Regions from separate parts of the Homo sapiens genome. Here region 2 is linked to region 1. Evidence: promoter capture Hi-C in 16 types of primary human blood cells and fetal thymus (Javierre and others, 2016). All regions are on one chromosome and are shown on one strand. The core of a region is centred on a gene start or on the middle of the fragment in contact, and the rest is flanking DNA. Distances in the headings are between cores, read along the strand shown.

What was found. The method cuts DNA at HindIII sites, captures the fragments that hold promoters and counts their contacts. A CHiCAGO score of 5 or more calls a contact.
Region 2: a contact is called between a fragment that was not itself captured here and the fragment with the promoter of DES in region 1, in 1 of 17 cell types (M0 macrophages). The highest score is 5.3, in M0 macrophages.

The regions. Positions count from the first base shown.
Region 1 is chr2:219,414,158-219,420,106 of GRCh38, forward strand. DES (desmin) reads left to right here and starts at 4,220. Exons shown (of 9, transcript NM_001927.4): 1 at 4,220-4,883; 2 at 5,938-5,949. The coding sequence starts at 4,306. RefSeq lists cis regulatory regions at 3,239-4,295, 3,312-3,318, enhancers at 3,239-3,514, 3,239-3,357, 3,358-3,514, a silencer at 3,515-3,990 and a promoter at 3,991-4,295. The HindIII fragment of the contact is 3,605 bases long and covers 3,515-5,949 here.
Region 2 is chr2:219,648,316-219,654,264 of GRCh38, forward strand. No RefSeq gene overlaps it. Among named protein-coding and RNA genes, the nearest start is that of SLC4A3, 24 kb to the left of the region's middle. The HindIII fragment of the contact is 7,031 bases long and covers 7-5,949 here.

The DNA of each region.
Region 1 (5,949 bases), core at 2,970-5,469:
ATTGCACTCCAGCCTGGGCAACAGAGTGAGACCCTATCTTTAAAAAATGAAATAAGGCTGGGTGTGGAGGCTTACAACTATAATCCCAGCACTGTGAGAGGCTGAGGTGGAAACATCACTTGACCCCAGGAATTTGAGACCAGCCTGGGCAACATAGGTTTGGAGACCTCATCTCTATGGAAAAGTAAAAAAACTAGCCAGGTATGGTGGCTTGCACCTGTAGTCCTAGGTACTTGGGAGGCTGAGGCAGGAGGATCACTTCAGTCCAGGAATTTGAGGCTGCAGTGAGTGATGATCGTGCCATTGCACTCCAGCCTGCGTGACAGAGGCCCTGTCTCTAAAAAACAAAACAAAACAAACAAACCACAATGAGGTACCACCTCACATCCATTAGGAAGGCTACTATTAATATTATAAAACAAATAAACAAATAGAAAATAGCAAGTGTTAGCCAGGATGTGGAGAAATTGGAACCCATGTTCACTGCTGGTAGCAATGTAAAACAGTGCAGCTGCTGCGGAAAACAGCATGGCAGTTCCTCAAAAATTTAGACATAGCATTACCATATAACATAGCAGTTCCACTTCTGAGTATCTACAGAAAAGAACTGAACATAAGTATTTGAACAGATATTTGTACACCAAAGTTCATAGCGACATTATTCACAATAACCAAAAGTTGGAAACAACCCAAATATTCATCAACAGATAAACAAAGTGTGGTGTATACATACAATGGAATATTATTTAGCCTTAAAAAGAAAGGAAATTCTGACCCATGTCACAACATGGATGAACCTTGAAGACGTTATGCTAAGGGAAGTAAGCCAGTCACAAAAGGACAAATATGGTATGATTCCACTTGCATGAAGTACCTAGAGTCAAATTCGTAGAAACGGAAAGTAGAATGATGTTTACCAGGGGCTGGGAGGAGGGGAAGGTGGAGGGTTATTTTTAATACATATGGAGTTTCAGCTTGGGACAATGAAAAAGTTCTGCAGATGGATGGTGGGGATAGTTGTACAACAATGTGAATGTACTTGACGCCACTGAACTGTATACTTAAAAAATGGCTCAAATGGTGAATTTTATTTTATGTATATTTTATCACAATGTAAAAGTGACTCAGCTGTCAATGTACTAAAATGGAACCATCTCTAAGCTGTATGTCATTGAAAAAAGATTGATTCAGAAGTGGGGGCTCCACATAAGAAAATGTGGTTGTGTGTACATGAAGTATCTCTGAAAGGAACCGATAACAACCAAAACCTGGTTGTCTCTGAAGCAGTGTTTGGGGTGGCTGGGTGTCAAAGTGGGAAGGAGACTTACTTTTCATTTTATGCCTTTTTGCACATCTTGAATTTTGTACCATATACACTACCCATCCAAATAAATTGTCGGTATTTTTAGTGTGTCCCATCCTGAGTGGTCCTCTCGGGAGGCTGAACTCTCCCTCCAGCGGTGCTGCCCAGCTCACAGCATGTTTTGGAGTGCTCCTCTTTCACCTGCCTTCCAAGCCTCGGGGTGTTGATTTGCAGCCCTCCATGGTAGCAAATCCTCAGGGGTGGAACTGAATTTTGAAAACAGTCCCAAGTGGTTCGGGGCCAAGTCTGGTGGTTGTTGATTTTGACTAGAGAATAGATGGCATGATTTATTTGTCTTCTGCCTCTTTTCACCAAGGAACTGAGGACTTGGGCTGGTCCAAAGGCCAATTTCCTTATGTGGTCTGGAGATCATTCACAGAGAAGAGCTCCAGAAATGTTGTCCCAGTAGCATCATAGAAATAGGTGTAGAGTCCCCTTCAGGAAGATTAATCTGGTTCTTTGGGCTGTAAGTGATCAAAGCAATACCAAGTGCCTTAAATTAAAAAAAAAAAAAAAAAAAAAAACGGAAAGTTTGTTGGCCCAAGGCCAGGAAGGACAGTGTGGGAGCTCAACTCACAAAGTTGAGGGAAGCACTGCAGGAACCAAGGGGCTGGCCTGCTCCTCCTCTCCAGCCTCCTCTGCTTCTTACATATTGACCTCTCTTTCTTCCTACTCCCCCAGGGGGCAGGAAACATGGCTTCCACAGGTTCCAGTTGAAGAATCCCAGTTCCGTCTATAAATTCCAGGGAAGGTCTCTGATTGGCCCTGCTCATTCCCAGGCCCATTCCTTGACCCAGTCACTGAAGTCAGGGAGATGCAGTAATAAGACTGGCTGGAATCAGGGTCTTTAGGGGTGGAGGGATGGGGAGGAGGCACAGCATGTCATCAAAATAAGGAAATTGCAAAAGAAAGCTTGCAGGCTACTTTGAATGACAATGAGAAAGACGGTGCTGCCTGAGTGTGTTAAGGATCCACATGGTCTCCAAAATCCTCCAGGAGCATACAGTCTAGTCTGGGAGATGAGACACAAAAATAACCAGAACACAACAGCTTGCACTGACTCGAGGGCTGGATAAGAATATCTGGAACTCCCCCATCTATTTCAGAAGCTTGTCTCTTGGATGAAAATTAGACACTTAATGGGAAAGGGCTTTGAAAAGAGTGCAGTAACAAAGCCCCCTTTACAATTTACCCGGCACATTCACACCCATCCTGAGGCCAAAGCCACAGGCTGTGAGGTCTCACTGTCTCAGCTTCCTGAGCTATAAAATGGGAATGATGCTAGTGTCTACCTCCTAGGGTTGGAGAATTGGGGGTCATGGGTGTGAAGTGCTCAGCAGCTTGGCCCACACTAGGTGGTCAGTACATGTAAGGTATTATTGTTGCTACATACATTAGTAGGGCCTGGGCCTCTTTAAACCTTTATAGGGTAGCATGGCAAGGCTAACCATCCTCACTTTATATCTGACAAGCTGGGGCTCAGAGAGGACGTGCCTGAGCTGGGGCTCAGACAAGGACACACCTACTAGTAACCCCTCCAGCTGGTGATGGCAGGTCTAGGGTAGGACCAGTGACTGGCTCCTAATCGAGCACTCTATTTTCAGGGTTTGCATTCCAAAAGGGTCAGGTCCAAGAGGGACCTGGAGTGCCAAGTGGAGGTGTAGAGGCACGGCCAGTACCCATGGAGAATGGTGGATGTCCTTAGGGGTTAGCAAGTGCCGTGTGCTAAGGAGGGGGCTTTGGAGGTTGGGCAGGCCCTCTGTGGGGCTCCATTTTTGTGGGGGTGGGGGCTGGAGCATTATAGGGGGTGGGAAGTGATTGGGGCTGTCACCCTAGCCTTCCTTATCTGACGCCCACCCATGCCTCCTCAGGTACCCCCTGCCCCCCACAGCTCCTCTCCTGTGCCTTGTTTCCCAGCCATGCGTTCTCCTCTATAAATACCCGCTCTGGTATTTGGGGTTGGCAGCTGTTGCTGCCAGGGAGATGGTTGGGTTGACATGCGGCTCCTGACAAAACACAAACCCCTGGTGTGTGTGGGCGTGGGTGGTGTGAGTAGGGGGATGAATCAGGGAGGGGGCGGGGGACCCAGGGGGCAGGAGCCACACAAAGTCTGTGCGGGGGTGGGAGCGCACATAGCAATTGGAAACTGAAAGCTTATCAGACCCTTTCTGGAAATCAGCCCACTGTTTATAAACTTGAGGCCCCACCCTCGACAGTACCGGGGAGGAAGAGGGCCTGCACTAGTCCAGAGGGAAACTGAGGCTCAGGGCTAGCTCGCCCATAGACATACATGGCAGGCAGGCTTTGGCCAGGATCCCTCCGCCTGCCAGGCGTCTCCCTGCCCTCCCTTCCTGCCTAGAGACCCCCACCCTCAAGCCTGGCTGGTCTTTGCCTGAGACCCAAACCTCTTCGACTTCAAGAGAATATTTAGGAACAAGGTGGTTTAGGGCCTTTCCTGGGAACAGGCCTTGACCCTTTAAGAAATGACCCAAAGTCTCTCCTTGACCAAAAAGGGGACCCTCAAACTAAAGGGAAGCCTCTCTTCTGCTGTCTCCCCTGACCCCACTCCCCCCCACCCCAGGACGAGGAGATAACCAGGGCTGAAAGAGGCCCGCCTGGGGGCTGCAGACATGCTTGCTGCCTGCCCTGGCGAAGGATTGGCAGGCTTGCCCGTCACAGGACCCCCGCTGGCTGACTCAGGGGCGCAGGCCTCTTGCGGGGGAGCTGGCCTCCCCGCCCCCACGGCCACGGGCCGCCCTTTCCTGGCAGGACAGCGGGATCTTGCAGCTGTCAGGGGAGGGGAGGCGGGGGCTGATGTCAGGAGGGATACAAATAGTGCCGACGGCTGGGGGCCCTGTCTCCCCTCGCCGCATCCACTCTCCGGCCGGCCGCCTGCCCGCCGCCTCCTCCGTGCGCCCGCCAGCCTCGCCCGCGCCGTCACCATGAGCCAGGCCTACTCGTCCAGCCAGCGCGTGTCCTCCTACCGCCGCACCTTCGGCGGGGCCCCGGGCTTCCCACTCGGCTCCCCGCTGAGTTCGCCCGTGTTCCCGCGGGCGGGTTTCGGCTCTAAGGGCTCCTCCAGCTCGGTGACGTCCCGCGTGTACCAGGTGTCGCGCACGTCGGGCGGGGCCGGGGGCCTGGGGTCGCTGCGGGCCAGCCGGCTGGGGACCACCCGCACGCCCTCCTCCTACGGCGCAGGCGAGCTGCTGGACTTCTCACTGGCCGACGCGGTGAACCAGGAGTTTCTGACCACGCGCACCAACGAGAAGGTGGAGCTGCAGGAGCTCAATGACCGCTTCGCCAACTACATCGAGAAGGTGCGCTTCCTGGAGCAGCAGAACGCGGCGCTCGCCGCCGAAGTGAACCGGCTCAAGGGCCGCGAGCCGACGCGAGTGGCCGAGCTCTACGAGGAGGAGCTGCGGGAGCTGCGGCGCCAGGTGGAGGTGCTCACTAACCAGCGCGCGCGCGTCGACGTCGAGCGCGACAACCTGCTCGACGACCTGCAGCGGCTCAAGGCCAAGTGAGGGCCCGGCACCCCAGACTCCTCTTTCTGCGGGCAGGGCACAGGAGGCTAGGCCTGGGGTCTGGGGTCCCGCTGTCAGCACCTGCCTTCTCCCGGGGCCCGGGACCCTCTCCTGCCCCATGTGGAGAAAGGGTCCTCCACCTGTGTGTTTCAAGGGGCCGTGACCTCCAGGTCTCTCCCCCTGCGATCCCATCTTGCACAGGAGTTTTCTTGGGGACATAGATCAGGGGGTGGATATGGGAGAATTTAGGGGACCCGGTGCCCTGTGGACAGCCCCGTTAAAAAGCATTTTAAGATGCTGGGGCGATATTTATGGGGTCAGGTAGTTGATGGGCAGAGGAAGGGCTGCAGGAGGCCCAGAGGGCAGTGTAGCCAGAGGGAGAAGGGAGGCTGATAGGAGACAGGGAAAGCAGGGCAAGGGCCCAGAGTCCAAGCAACAGCTCTCAGCTCAGCTGTGATGAGGCCCTGGGGGAGGTGGGGGGAGGGGGGAGCTTGGCCCTGGGGCCTTGCCGAGACTGTGTCTTTTTACAAGGTGAATGGACAGGCTGGAGAAAAAGGGAGTAGGTGGGGGTCACAGCTCTCAGAGAGCTTGGGAGGACCTGACTGTAGACTTCACCAGGCTCCAAGAACGAAAAGGGCAGCAAGTGTAGCATATTTGTTGGTCCCACTTCTGACAGGCCAAGTGAGCACAGTCACCCTCCTGCCACCAAAGTCATAAATATTAATTGAGCAGCTATATTGGCCAGGCTGGAGCTGGGAACCAGAAACACAGAGGTGGATAAAATAGACACAGTTTCTAACCCCAGGGAGGTCACACAGTCTGGTGGGGACATAGACTTCAAGGGTGTGGCTCCTGGGCAGAGATTGGGCCACTTCCTGTGCCCTCCCTGGGTGGGTGGGGCCTCTCCACTCCCTGTCTCTCCTGCCTCTACCCAGCAGCCAGGCCCTCCCGCTCTGTCCTGGACCCACCCCCTGGTCAGCCCCCGGCCAGTCGTTTCCACTGCCAGCTTTATCACCCGCAACTGTCTGTCTTTCTGTCTGTCCCACCCAGGCTGCAGGAGGA
Region 2 (5,949 bases), core at 2,272-4,771, 230 kb after region 1:
AAAGTAAGCTTGAGGGCAGGACCCATGCCTATTTCTATTCTGTTTATCAAGCAACAGAAAGGGCTGCACATAAACGCATGGACTTAGGAAGGGGAACAATACACATCAGGGCCTGTTGGGTTGGTGGTGGGTGAGGGGAGGGAGAGCATCAGGACAAATAGCTAATGCATTAGGTGATGGGTTGATAGGTGCAGCAGACTACCATGACACACGTATACCTATATAACAAACCTGCATGTTCTGCACATGTATTCTGAAACTTAAAGTTAAAAAAAAAAAAAAAGAAAGGGCTGAACGTAGCACGTTCTAATGTTTAGGCTGCTTGGTTGGGACTGTGATCTGTGAGCACCTCTCTTGCTCTGCTGGCTTTGCTGTTGTTGATGGCATTACAGTTGAGTGGCCAGAACATGGGGACTGGCAGTCAGGAATCCTCGGCTTTGGCCTCACCTCAGGCACTAGCTGGACTTTGGTTAAGTGGCCTCATCTTTCTGAGAGATTAGGAATTTGGCTCCAGCACCTCCTTCATAGACCATATTCTTTCAACAGACCCTGATCACTGCAGTGGTTTTGCTCAGGAAGCAGGGGGTTCAGGAGGGGGGAAGCAGTGGCTGTAGTGCTATAGGAATCCCCAAATAATCTCTCAGCAGAGTTACTAGGCTTAGGAACTTTCTTCTTTAGTTTCGCCACGTCAAAAGGTGTGTAGATCCTGGGGGAGTCCATTTTTGCATTCCTAGGGGAGTCAGAAACTCAGAGACCACAGAGGGTGGGATGGGTAGGGTGAGGGGGTGGGGGTGAGCAGTGACTTGGAGAATGATCTCAGGATATTGGACAAAGCTGTGACGTCACTAGAATTCAATTAGGTGACGTTTAAACATCTATAAGAGGTGTGTGGTCCTATGAGATAAGAAGCACATGAAAAGGATGCAGGATTCTGTAGAGATAGATGGACAAATATGTAGTTATAAGCCTTAATGGTCACATAAATACACAATCAGGTATAGAACCTGGATAGGGAGTTATGGACTACACTCTGGCTTGACCTTTAGTAACTGATCACTTGTAATCAAGGGACTAGTCTACTCAGCCACCTCCATCTTTAAGTTAGAAAGTTAAAAACTGGAAATAGGGCTCTACAGGTCCATAGAGTCAGCAGCTAAGATGCAGTCGGCATCCCACCCAGAATCTCTGGTTGATTAGCAACCTCAGGTGGCTGAGAAGGGAATACCTCTCTTGTGGATAGACATTTTACTAGCCCTGGGAAAATTTATTTTCATCTCGTTTAATTTTTTTAGCCCTGGGAAAATTTAAAATTAAGCACACAAATGTTTAGGGGAATCAAAACTATAGTTTTCATGTTTTCAAGTTAAAGAATTTGTGCATATATAATATTTGTGTAGGCATAATTTTAGAGAATTCGGCCTACTGGAATATTAGACCACCTTCAATATTTCATTTTAATGTATGTACTTGAATAATTGATTGAAATTTGTGATAAGTTGAAATATTTCCAAGTTTACATATAGTTTGGACATTGAAGAGAATTTAAGGTTCACTCTGTCTTGTATGCTGAATTTATTAAATCTGTAAGAATTACTTTTGTACTTGGGAAGTTTTATCAGTCAGATGAAATACTTAAAAAGGAATTGAATTTATTAAATTTATTAAGTGCCATTTAAAATGTTAAAGACTTTTAATTAACTAAGTGTGTAAATGGGGCTAAGCATTAATCAAAACCCTCTCAAAGTGATTGTTAATATTTGCTAGACTTATAAATAGGACAATAAGATTCCTAAGGTGATTTTAAAAGCGTTAAGGAAGAGCTATAAATTTCTAAATCTATAAATTTAATAAATTGAATACTGATTTTCAAAACCCCAGTAAATCTCAGAGTGGTCTTTTCAGTGCGCAAAAGCCACCCTCAAGGACATAAGACATAAAATATTTTCCTAACCAGTGAGTCTTCAGCAGTGCAGGGGGAGAGAACGGAAGTGGGAAAGGGAGAAAGGAAAGTAAGATTTTAGTGTCATTGGATTGTCTTGTTCCCAAGGTCAGGCTAGATGGTATATTCTGCACCATGCCAAATTGCTCATCTCACAGGAGACTGTAATTAAACACACGCTTACTGTGCGGGGGATCAGAATTGCTGAGGAGGGTATTTGGCAACTAAGAAAGCAGGTTAAATCGTGATGGCTTTGGGGTCTTAGCAGTCCCTCTCAGTAAGCCCTTCTAAGTTACATTCTACTGTTCTGTTTGCTGTTAATTATTCCTCAGATAATTTCCCCTGAGCAAGAATAAGGACATTCTGTGGTAGAGGCTGAGGTTTTTGTTTCCCAGGGGGTTTGCTGCTGAGAGCCAGTGGGAATGTGTATCAGTCAAAATTCTTATTTGCACCAAACAGAAGCCAGCTCCAGCTAATTTAAGCAGAAACAGGGCTGTTGAAAAGCCATTCACAGACACTGGGAAGGTAGGAGACTCCAACTCAGAACCATGGTCACAGACATGCCACAGAAAACATCCGGTGGCAATGTGGCTGTTGCTGTGGAACGTGAGATGCCACAGTTGCGCCCCTGGTGGGGGATATCACCCCTGGAACGGCCACCAGGAGGATTCTGCACTGCCCCTCTTCTCTGCATCCATCACTAATACCTGCATCCATCACAAGGTCTCAGGTGGATGTTCCTGACTGGCTTATGTCATGTGCCTGTGTCGAAGTTGCTAGAAGGCTGGGAAAGAGGCTTTTGGCATTTCAGCTTCTGTGGTGGGAGGCAGCTCTGGCTCTGACACTCAGTAGTGATGTGTTGGAGCTAGCTTACAAGAGCTGCTTGTAAAAATTTCAGGGACTTGTGAACTGGTTGTTAAACATAGTCATTATTAAAAAGTAAATTATAGTAGATATACTGTTTCTATTCCTCTTGCAAAGTATAAAAGAAATATAAGTCTCTGAATGGAGGCAAGAAGAAGGCAGACCAGCTAGGGACCTTGGGACCCAAGGAATAATACATTACTGAGTTCCTTGTATTTTCTTTTTGTGTCATATATCCCAGACTTGGAGCTGAAGAAGCTGGCAATGCAGAAATGCCAATAGGTGTAGGCAAAAAAGCCCCAACCAAAGTCTGCTCTCTCTAGTCAAAGGGGTAGGAAAGAAGAAACAGAGCAAGACAGAAAACTTTCAGACAGTAACAGCCAAATGCAGCAGAAAAATCTGTGATCTCCCCATCCCAACTCAGGCTAACAAAGGCTAAATTGGCAGCTTATACTTCCAACCTTGAGAAACTGTCAAGGCACCTCAGTACTCACGATGAAGTGATGTCATAGGAGACCAAGTAGAGCCTGGACTTCCAGCCCCATCTAGCAGTAATAAGGCACTCTTCCTCCTTCCCACTGTGTTGGGAGCAAGCCCCCCAAAATCTGGCCATAAACTGGTCCCAAAACTGGCCATAAATAAAATCTCTGCAGCACTGTAGCATGTCCATAATGGCCCTAACGCCCAAGCTGGAAGGTTCTGGGTTTACGTGAATGAGGGCAAGGAATACCTGGCCCGCCTAGGGCGGAAAACCGCTTAAAGGCATTCCTAAGCCACAAACAAAAGCATGAGCCATCTGTGTCTTAAGGTGTGTTCCTGCTGAAATTAATTCGGCCCATCCCTTCATTTCCCATAAGGGATACTTTTAGTTAATTTAATATCTATAGAAACCATGCTAATGACTGGTTTACTGTTAAGAAATATGTGGGTAAATCTCTGTTCGGGGCTCTCAGCTCTGAAGGCTGTGAGACCCCTGATTTCCCACTTCACACCTCTATATTTCTGTGTGTGTTTCTTTAATTCCTCTAGCGCCGCTAGGTTAGGGTCTCCCTGACCCAGCTGGTCTCGGCACCACTGGATGGTGTCAGAGGATGCCTAGTGGGGAGTCAGAACCTTTGTAATCATTCAGCAGTAAGAGACAGAGAGGGATACTATGTAATGATAAAATAGTCAATTCACCAAGAAGACATAGCAATCCTAAATGTACATGTACCAAACAACAGAGCTGCAAAATAGGAGAAGCAAAACCCAATTGAACTGAAAAGAGAAACAGACAAATCACAGTTGTAACTGGAGACTTCAACACCCCTCTCTCAACAATTGCTAGAACAATTGATAGCTAAAGTCAGCAAGGATATAGAAGAACTCAACATCAACTGAGAGGATTTAATTGACATTTATAGAACACTAAGACTAAACCATCAGAATACAAATTCTTTTTGCATGTTCATGGAACATATACCAAGATAGACCCTATTCTGGGCTATAAAACACATTGCAACAAACTTAAGAGAATTAAAATAATATAGAGTTTTCTGACCACAATGGAATTAAACTAGAATAACAGAAAAATAATAGGAAAATCTCCAAACACTTGGAAACTAAACCAACATATTTTAAGTAATTAATGAGTCAAAAGGGAAGACTCAAGGAAAATTTAAAAAATTATTGAACTAAATGAAAACTAAAATATAGCACATCAAAATTTGTGGGACACAGCCAAAGCAATGCTGAGAGGGAAATATATAGCATTAAATGTGTACATTAGAAAAGAGGAGAAGTTTCAAACTAATAATCTAAGCTCCCACCTGAAGAACCTAGAAAAGATAAGCAAACTAAACCCAAAGTGAACGGAAGGAAGGAAATAATAAAGATAAGAGTAGATATAAGCAAAATTGAAAACAGAAAAACAATAGAGAAAATCAATGAAACAAAGAATTTGTTCTTTGAAAAGGTCAATAAAATTGACAAATCTCTAGCAAGACTGACAAAAAGGAGGACACATATTACCAACATCAAGAATGAAACAGGCCGGGTGCAGTGGCTCACGCCTGTAATCCCAGCACTTTGGGAGGCCGAGGCAGGTGGATCACCTGAGGTCAGGAGTTTGAGACCAGCCTGGCCAACGTGGTGAAACCCCATCTCTACTAACAATACAAAAATTAGCTGGGCGTGGTAGTGCATGCCTGTAATCCCAGCTACTCGGGAGGCTGAGGCACGAGAATTCCTTGAACTTGGGACACAGAGGTTTCAGTGACAGAGTGAGACTCCGTCTCAAAAAAAAAAAAAAAAAAGAAATGGGATATCACTGAAGACCTTGCAGCAGACATCAAAGACTGATAAGTGAATACTATGAATAAGTTTGCACACATAAATTTAGCGACCTAGATGAAATAGACCATTTCTCAAAAAACCACAAATGACCACAACTCACTCTATATAAAAGAGCTAATTTGAAGCTGGGCACCATGGCTTGTGCCTGTAATCCCTGCTGCTCAGGAGGCTGAGATGGGAGGATCACTGCAGTCTAGGAAGTCTAGGAGTTTAAGGCTGCAGTGAGCTGTGATCAAGCCACTGCACTCTAGTCTGAGTGACAGAGTGAGACCCTGTCTCTTAAAAAAAAGAGACAATAGCCCTGTAATGAATAGCCTCTAATGAATAGCCCTGTAATGATTAACAAAGCTAATTTCTTAAATTAAAACTCCTCCTCACCTACCCCACCTCCAAATTTCCAGGCCAAGATGGTTTGACTGAAGAATGTTACTAAATATTTAAATAAGAATTGCTACCAATTTTACACAACCTCTTCCAGAAATAGAAGAGGAGGTAATACTTCCTAATGAACTTTATGAAGCTAGTATTCCTCTGATATCAAGACCAGACAAAAATAATCCCCAAAAAAGAAATCTAAAGACTAGCATCTCTCCTGAATATAGATGCAAGAAATCTTTAACAAAATATTAGCAAATATAATTCATCAATATAGAAAAAAATTATATATCATGATCATGTGGAATTTATTAGAGATGAAAAGCTGTTTCAGTATTTAAAAATCAATTATGGTAATCCACCATGTTAACAAGTTAAAAAAATCACATGATCCTATCAATTGACACAGAAAATGCATCTGACAAAATTCAACATCC